Linked DNA regions of Homo sapiens: region 1 is linked to region 2. Evidence: promoter capture Hi-C in 16 types of primary human blood cells and fetal thymus (Javierre and others, 2016). All regions are on one chromosome and are shown on one strand. Each heading gives the region's core, a stretch centred on a gene start or on the middle of the fragment in contact. The rest is flanking DNA. Distances are from core to core; before and after follow the strand shown.

Region 1 (3,754 bases), core at 755-3,254, 300 kb after region 2:
GGTTCTAACACCTAAATTTACCTCACAAATATCCATTTTATGTCCCAGCAGAGTTTAAAAACTAAATGAGACATTTTAGGTGTAAGGAAAACACACGTTTGTCAGTTTGCCATTTAAGAATCTCCCAAGTTGGTACTCAAAAACTATCAATCCCATGACCAGAAAAGATGTTTCCTATATAACATCTTAAAATATCATGCAAATGAAACTTATCTAAGAATTAAAATACCTTAACAAATATAAAACAGCTATAGAATAACTGCAAAGGCTATTACCATTCAAAAGAGGGAGCAGTATTCATTGACTGAATTGTTTTAAACTAGACAACTTAAGGCTTATTTAAGCTTTCAGCATTTACTTAACACAGTCTTTAATCAATCCTTCTGCTCTCACAGTCTACCTACTGGTCATTCTGACCTTTTGCTCTTATTTACTTCCAAATATCTTTAGCCTCCCTAGATGTTCCTTCTTGATGACACACGCATCCATCTCCGGCCGATTTAAATCAAATCCACAGCCTCATTTTCAGTCCAATTTTCATTGGAATGTGATGAATACACTTTACTTTCAAAGTAAAATTTTTCTTACTCTTAGTAAGCTGCCCTGACAGGACAGTTGAAACACAATTGTCTAAAGGGTTAAAATGTCTGTCCATTTTTCAAATGCGATGGCCACTCTGAATCAAATCTGATTGGGATGGAGAATCCAAATGTGTAAAACAAAAGTCACAAAAGACAAACAGAGCACAGTATTTCAGTGGGGGAAAAAAAATAAGCTAAATTTAGTCACTTAAGTCCCAGCTCTTCTTGGGATATATATATGATTTTTACGAGAACTAATCCTATCCGGAAACATTTCCTTCACCTTTCCCTTAGCCCTTTTCCTTCGGTCATGCAGTCTCTTACCGTGCTAATTATCATATTAATATAATCCTCACTTGCGATCCTTCCTGACTTTATTCCCCATGCTCAGATTCTCCTGAAAGCATAACGCTTTCCTAAGTATACACACAATCCATTTAAAAGTCTTTGTATGCGACAGCCTAACTATTCAAACACGAAGTCATTTCTCTAACGGTCCTAGAAAAAATTTTAAAAAGAAAAAGAAAACCACAAAGTCAAGAGCTTCTGAGGGGACCTGAAAAGTCATCAAATTGAACGCTCTCGTTTTATAGTTGGAGAAAGGAGCTCAGAGAAACTTATTCACTGAGCTAAAAAGGCCCTACTAATGCAGCCCGTAATTCAACTGTGCAATCTGAAATAATCTTAAATTCAGCTTCAATAAGAGCTTTCTGGAATCGCCAGCGAATCCGTGGGGGAGCCACGGCTAGAACCCAGGCCTCCTGATTCCCAGCCACAGCTTTTCCACCGAACCAGCAGCTCTTCCCAAAAGTTGAAGGCAACTGTCCGCTCACAGGATGGGAGGGATAAAGGGCGCCTTAGTAAACACAGTCCAAGTCTACTCGTTTTACATGAGGAAAGGGTCACAGCTCCCGAAATTTTGGATTCTACTGCTGCAGCTGCTGCTTCTGACAGCAGAGGCGGGAGGTGGCCCAGGACTACTCGGTCCTCAAAGACTGGACTCTCTCTCGGCGCGCCGGGACCTCCGCGCTTCACTGACTGGCTTCCCTAGAAGACTGGGGGCCTTGCGGGGAAATAAAAAGGGCAGACACGCCACCCTCACCGAGGCCCTAGACGCCCAGCCGCTCTAGAATCACGGCATTAGCCCTTGGAAAGCCAGGGAGACGCGGACCCCCTAGACCCGCAGCCCGGCCGCGTGGGGCGGCGCGCAGGTGACGGACCAGGAGCTGCGCCCTGCCACGAGTGAGGGGCGGACGGGAGACGTCGAGGCCGGCGAGGGGGCACGCGCTAGTTCCACAGCCCGGCGGGCAAGAAGGAGGGTAGGCAGGGGTCCCGAGCCGCGGGCGGCGGGGGTCCGTCACACACATACTCACTGCCGCAGCTGCGAACAGGAAGCACCAACCGGGAACCAAAACGCGTAGAGGGACGGGGAGGGGCGAGGACAAATGAGGTAAGGAGGCCGCGTCCGCGCAGACCCGGGAGGGAAGGCACTTCCGGGGACAACACAGCTCTAGTCACCGCCTTTCCGTCCCCGCCCACCTGCCGCGCCTGATGTGCGCATGCGTAGTGGGTGCGAACCGTTCTCTGCCCCGCCCATAATTATTAGGTTTGCCTTCCTTGCTTTCCCCCTTCCCCTTCCCAACTTCTCTTGAAGCTACCTAGGCTGCATCTATTATTTGAATGACTCGTACGAAGGAGATGCTATTTACCGGGCAAAAGCCGGGGAGTTCGTGCCCTCTACCCCCGCGAGGAAAACTACAACCCCCATGAGGACACGGGCGAGGTTGAGGCCGGGCTCCGCCTCCTTCTCCCTGGCGCTCGGTGGACGCCTTCTCAGTGCCACGTGGCGCGGGAGCCTAGCTGATCGCGTGCATGACGAGGGCCAGCGTGGCTGGCTGCTTGGCCCGCAGACCTGGGCAGCGGGAAACGCGTACTTGAGAGCGCATGGCTTCAAGCTTCTCCCTTGCGCTCATGATCTTAGGCTGGTCGCTTTTTCTTTTAGGCGGAACACAGTTCACACTGGGCGCCTCCAACTCTCTGGAATTCTAGGCAACAGATTAACACTTTGTGAATCTCGAAGAGCTGCACTCCTGCTAAATATTGGAGTTAATGCTGATCCTTTGGAAGTCTCTGAAGGTTGCAAGATTGTGCTGGGAGCCTCTGGCTTCATTTGCCCTTCTCACACCTTATTTTAATACAAGGTAAACCCATCTGTAGAACTTTAGAAATAACTGTCGACCTAAAGGAAAAACTGAGGCAAAGTTAATATAAGTGGAGAATTTATTTGGGCCAAGTTTGATGAGGGCAACCTGGGATCATCAATTCAAGTTGCCCTTAATATGTGATCCGATAAGCAGCAGTTTCAACTGAGTTCTTTGTCTTGTGAAGCTCCAGGCTTAAAGGTATCGATCCTCCCACCTCTGTCTCCCAAAGCACTGGGATCACAGGCATGAGCCATTACACTTCTTGTAGCAGCTACGAGTGAATTTTTTTCTTTCTTTATGGTTTTTTTTTTTTTTTTTTTTTTTTTTTTCCTGAGACGGAGTTTCGCAGTTGTTGCCCAGGCTGGAGTGCAATGGCGCGGTCTCGGCTCACTGCAACCTCCGCCTCCCAGATTCAAGCCATCCTCCTGCCTCAGCCTCCGAAGTAGCTGGGATTACAGGCGCCTGCCACCACGCCCAGCTAATTTTTGTATTTTTAGTAGAGTCGGGGTTTCACCATGTTGGCCAGGCTGGTCTCGAACTCCTGGCCTCGACCTGCCAAAGTGCTGGGATTAGAGGCGTGAGCCACCGCGCCCGGCCACGAGTGAATTTTTAAAGGAAAAAAGAAGAGGCTTTTGCTAAACTACATACCAAGAATTGACACTAAAATAACATAAGCTATCCATTGGCTACACATTGTTCTTTCTATCACAAATTTTAGGAACACGAAGATAAAGGGTGATGCAGGTACTGGGAAGAAAAGAACAAAATGCCTTTAAACAATTGCCACACACCCCTACCCCCCACCCCCACCCCCACCACCACCTACATGGGATGGTGCTAACTGAAGTACCATACTCAAGTCCCTCTGGGCCTGATAAAGTTTGAATGCCTGCCTGGCTAATGGGGTAGCTCTCACCTGTTTGGGAGCCCGAAGTGGGAGGATAGCTTAAGGCCGAGAATTCGAAACCA
Region 2 (3,836 bases), core at 547-3,046:
GGATTCAATGGCCTGTTGCATCTCTTCCTGTCCGTGGAGTCCATGAAATAGAAAACTCTCATAGTTGGACTGGGCCAGGAAAGATAAGGTCAAGGCCACCCAACGCTTCCACGGCAGCTCACAGCAACCAGATATTTGTCCCAGTGATGCACGGTGCCTCCTGGCCCTTGCCATGGAATTCAGTACAGTCAGCACGTGTGGAGCCTCTATGTGGCAGGACACAGGATAGCTACTTGCACCTCCTGACTGAGCCCAGGGCACTGACCACCTTTCATCCACCTCCCCATGAGCAGGGTACAGCGTGAGCTACTGTTACCATGGGCGCGGTTGCTGCCTTCCACCTTCTCCTGCTCAGTACAAAGTGGGTCCTTGGCAAAGGTTTTGTTGCAGTGAACAAAATTTGAAAATCTCATATGCCCCTAGAACTGGCTGCTGAGGCTGGATTGCATCCTCTTCCTATCTAACATTGGAAACACAAACCTGATCAAATGCAGTGATCAGACAGCAGTCAGACACTTCTGAGTACAAGCCCCAGCTCCTCCACCTGGGAGCTGCATGGCTTTGGGAAGAAACTTAACCCTAAGTCCAGCCTCCAGTTTTTAATCTGTGCAATGGGAATTATAATACTGACTTCACAGTGCTACCAGGATTAAAAGTTTATGTATATGAAGCACCTGGCAAGGTTGGCCCACAAAAAGGGTTCCATTTAGCAAGGGTGGGCCAGGTGCAGTGGTTCATGCCTGTAATCCCAGCACTTTGGGAGGCTGAGGTGGGAGGATCCCTTCGTACAGGAGTTCAGGACCAGCCTGGGCAACACAGTGAGACCCTCGTCTTTGAAAAAAATAAAAAATTAGCCAGGCATGGTAGTGCATGCCTGTAGTAGTCCCAGCTACTTGGGAGGCTGAGGTGGAAGTATCTCTTGAGTCCAGGAGGTTGAGGCTGCAGTGAGGTATAATGGTGCCACTGCACTCCAGCCTGGATGAGAGTGAGACCCTGTCTTAAAAATTAAAGGGTCCTCAGGCCAGTCATGGTGACTAACACCTGTAATCCCAACACTTTGGGAGGCTGAGGCAAGAGGATTGCTTGAGCCCAGGAATTTGAGACCAGCCTGAGCAACAGAGTGAGACCCCCATCTCTACAAAAAAAAAATCAGAAAATTAGCCGGTAGTGATTGTTTGCGCCTGTAGTCCCAGCTACTCGGGAGGCTCAGGTGGGAGAACTGATTGGGCCCAAGAAGTCGAGGCTGCAGTAAGCCACGATCGATCGAGCCACTGCACTCCAGCCTGTGCAGCAGAGTGAGACTGTCTCAAAAAAAAAAAAAAAAAGATAAGTAAATATAAAGAAGAAGAGTCATCAAAGCCCCCTGCCAAACGTCCAAGGGCCTGGTCAGTGACCGCCATGTCCCTGACCCCACATGTCCTGTGGGAGCGTGGAGAATTAGCCTGGACCTTGCCTCAGGGGCAATCTCCCCTCTCCAAAGCCGGAACTGCAGGTCCCAGCGTCGTCTTAAGAGGAGAACTGGGCCCCAGAGAACTTTCTCCGAGACTCCCCAAAACTCCAAGCCTGCCCCAGCCGGCCACAAGGCCCAAACGCCCCGCCCGGCTCTCCGGTCCCTGGGACCGCCCTGCTCCCTCCTCCACGGCGCGCGAGGCTCTTACTCTGCCGCCCGGGCGAGCGCGACCCTACCCTCGGCGGGTATCCTGCGGGTGACGAACACCTTCATGAGTCGCACCGGTCTCATCCGCAGTGCAGCCGCCGACCCGGACCTGGCAGTACAGAAGCTGGCCCGGGAATGTAGCTGGGCCGGGGCGGGGCCAGGCTGGAGTGGGCGGGAGAGACGTCGCGCGCGGCGTGCGCAGGGGGTGTGGCTTCGCGAGAGGGAGCGCCGGGTTGCGGCTGAGCGGTGACTGTGCGTGCTCGGGGAGTGACAGTAACAGTGACCCTACACAGTGTCCTTGTGTGTGTGTGGGGGGGTGCGCCTCGTGCCACTGGGGAATCAGGGCCCCGGGGGAGAGGGGGCAGTATCCCGTCCAAGGCCTCATGGGAGCCCTGCTTTTTCTACACGCTCAGGGTCCTGTTTCCACAGGCTCAGGCCTTAAGAGACTGAAAGCCCCCACTTTTTCTGTCTCTTGGGTTGGCCCAGGGTAGAAACCCAGGTTCCAGGCTGTGAGGAAGTCCAGGACACACAGAGAGGTCACGTGTAGGTGTTCAGGCCAACAGCACAGCCAGGGGCCCGGCTCACAGCCACCGTCAATGACCAGAGGTATGAGTGAGGAAGCCTTCGGGTGACTCCAGGCCAACTCCCACCTGACTACAGCTAAAACTGCAAGAAAGAGCCTTTAGGAGAATCACTGGCTGAGCCCAGTCAACCCCGGAACCATAAGAGATGATAATGCACTGACTGCTGTTGCTCTAAGCCGTTCAATTTTGGAGTAATTCTTTATGCAGCAATAAATAAGTGATACGCTATGTGTGCGAAAGCCAGAAGCCATAAGAGTACAACTAATTCTCCATTGAAAAATTAACCGTACCATCCTGAATGCATCTGATCTTGGAAACTAAGCCTGGTTAGGGCTTGTATGGGAGACTGCCTGGAAATACCAGGTGCCTGGAAATACCAGGCTTATGTTTATCTTAAAAAAAAAAAATTAACAAAATCATAAGACAACAAACCGGGAAAAATACCATATATTTGCAACTCATTTTATAGACAAGGGGTTGATTTACTTATTGCACAAATAGTTCCTAAGACAAAGATGCCCAGCTTATCTGAATAAGCAAAGGATATCAATGGACAGTTTATAGAAAAGAAAATGGCCTTTAAATGTATGGCTGGGCGCGGTGGCTCATGCCTGTAATCCCAGCACTTTCGGAGGCCGAGGCAGGCGGATCACTTGAGGTCAGAAGTTTGAGACCAGCCTGGCCAACATGGTGAAACTCTGTCTGTACTGAATATACAAACATTAGGTGGGCATGGTGGCACATGCCTGTAATTCCAGCTACTCAGGAGGCTGAGGCAGGAGAATTGCTCATGAGTCCAGGAGATGGAGGTTGCAGTGAGCCGAGATCCCATCACTACACTCCAGCCTGGGTGACAGAGTGAGACTCCATCTAAAACAAAAAAAAACAAAACAAACAAAAAAAAAAAACAAAAGATGAAAAGTGCTCAACTTGACTCACAAAAGAACTGCATATTAAAATTACAGCAAGATACCAATGTAAAAAATAATACATTGGGGAACCAGGTGCTTTCATACGTTGCTGGTAGGAGTGTAAATCAGCAACTTCAATAAGAAAGTTTGGCAGTAGCTATCAAAGTTTAGACTGCACATCTTTTTTGACCCAGAAATTTTGCTTTTAGGAATTTACCTTACAGACGCGTTCACACATGTGCAAAATGCCATCTGCCAAAGGCTCTTCATTGTGGCATTGTTGGAATAGTAAAATATGGGAAACAACCTAAAGGTCCACTCATAGGGGACTGTTCATTACGTATGCTTCATTCCCACAGTGAAATACTCTGCATCAATCAAAAGAGTGAGGCAGCTCTGTGCGTACCAGTGTGGAATGATCTCCAAGATGTACTGTCCAGTGAGAAAACAGGGTGATGCAAAGTGCATATGTTACCATTTATAGGAGAAAGTATATGCCTATTCTTTTTTTTTTTTTTTTTTTTTTTTTTTTGAGACAGGATCTCAGTCTGTTATCTAGGCTGGAGGGCAATGGTGCAATCTTGGCTCACTGCAACCTCTACCTCCTGTGCTCCAATGATCCTCCCGCCTCAGCCTCCTGAGCAGCTGGGACCACAGGCATGTGCCACCACACCCAGCTAATGT

The links. The method cuts DNA at HindIII sites, captures the fragments that hold promoters and counts their contacts. A CHiCAGO score of 5 or more calls a contact.
Region 1: a contact is called between the fragment with the promoter of ZCCHC7 here and the fragment with the promoter of GRHPR in region 2, in 7 of 17 cell types (fetal thymus, total B cells, erythroblasts and 4 more). The highest score is 10.1, in fetal thymus.

What each region holds. Positions count from the first base shown.
Region 1 is chr9:37,118,824-37,122,577 of GRCh38, reverse strand. ZCCHC7 (zinc finger CCHC-type containing 7) reads right to left here and starts at 2,004. Exons shown (of 9, transcript NM_032226.3): 1 at 1,955-2,004. It overlaps LOC105376034 (a long non-coding RNA gene), which reads left to right and starts at 2,178. Exons shown (of 3, transcript NR_188580.1): 1 at 2,178-2,782. RefSeq lists an enhancer at 2,263-2,342. The HindIII fragment of the contact is 2,192 bases long and covers 347-2,538 here.
Region 2 is chr9:37,420,656-37,424,491 of GRCh38, reverse strand. It overlaps GRHPR (glyoxylate and hydroxypyruvate reductase), which reads right to left and starts at 1,796. Exons shown (of 9, transcript NM_012203.2): 1 at 1,659-1,796. The coding sequence starts at 1,741. RefSeq lists enhancers at 1,199-1,824, 1,825-2,450 and a silencer at 1,835-1,984. The HindIII fragment of the contact is 7,938 bases long and covers 1-3,836 here.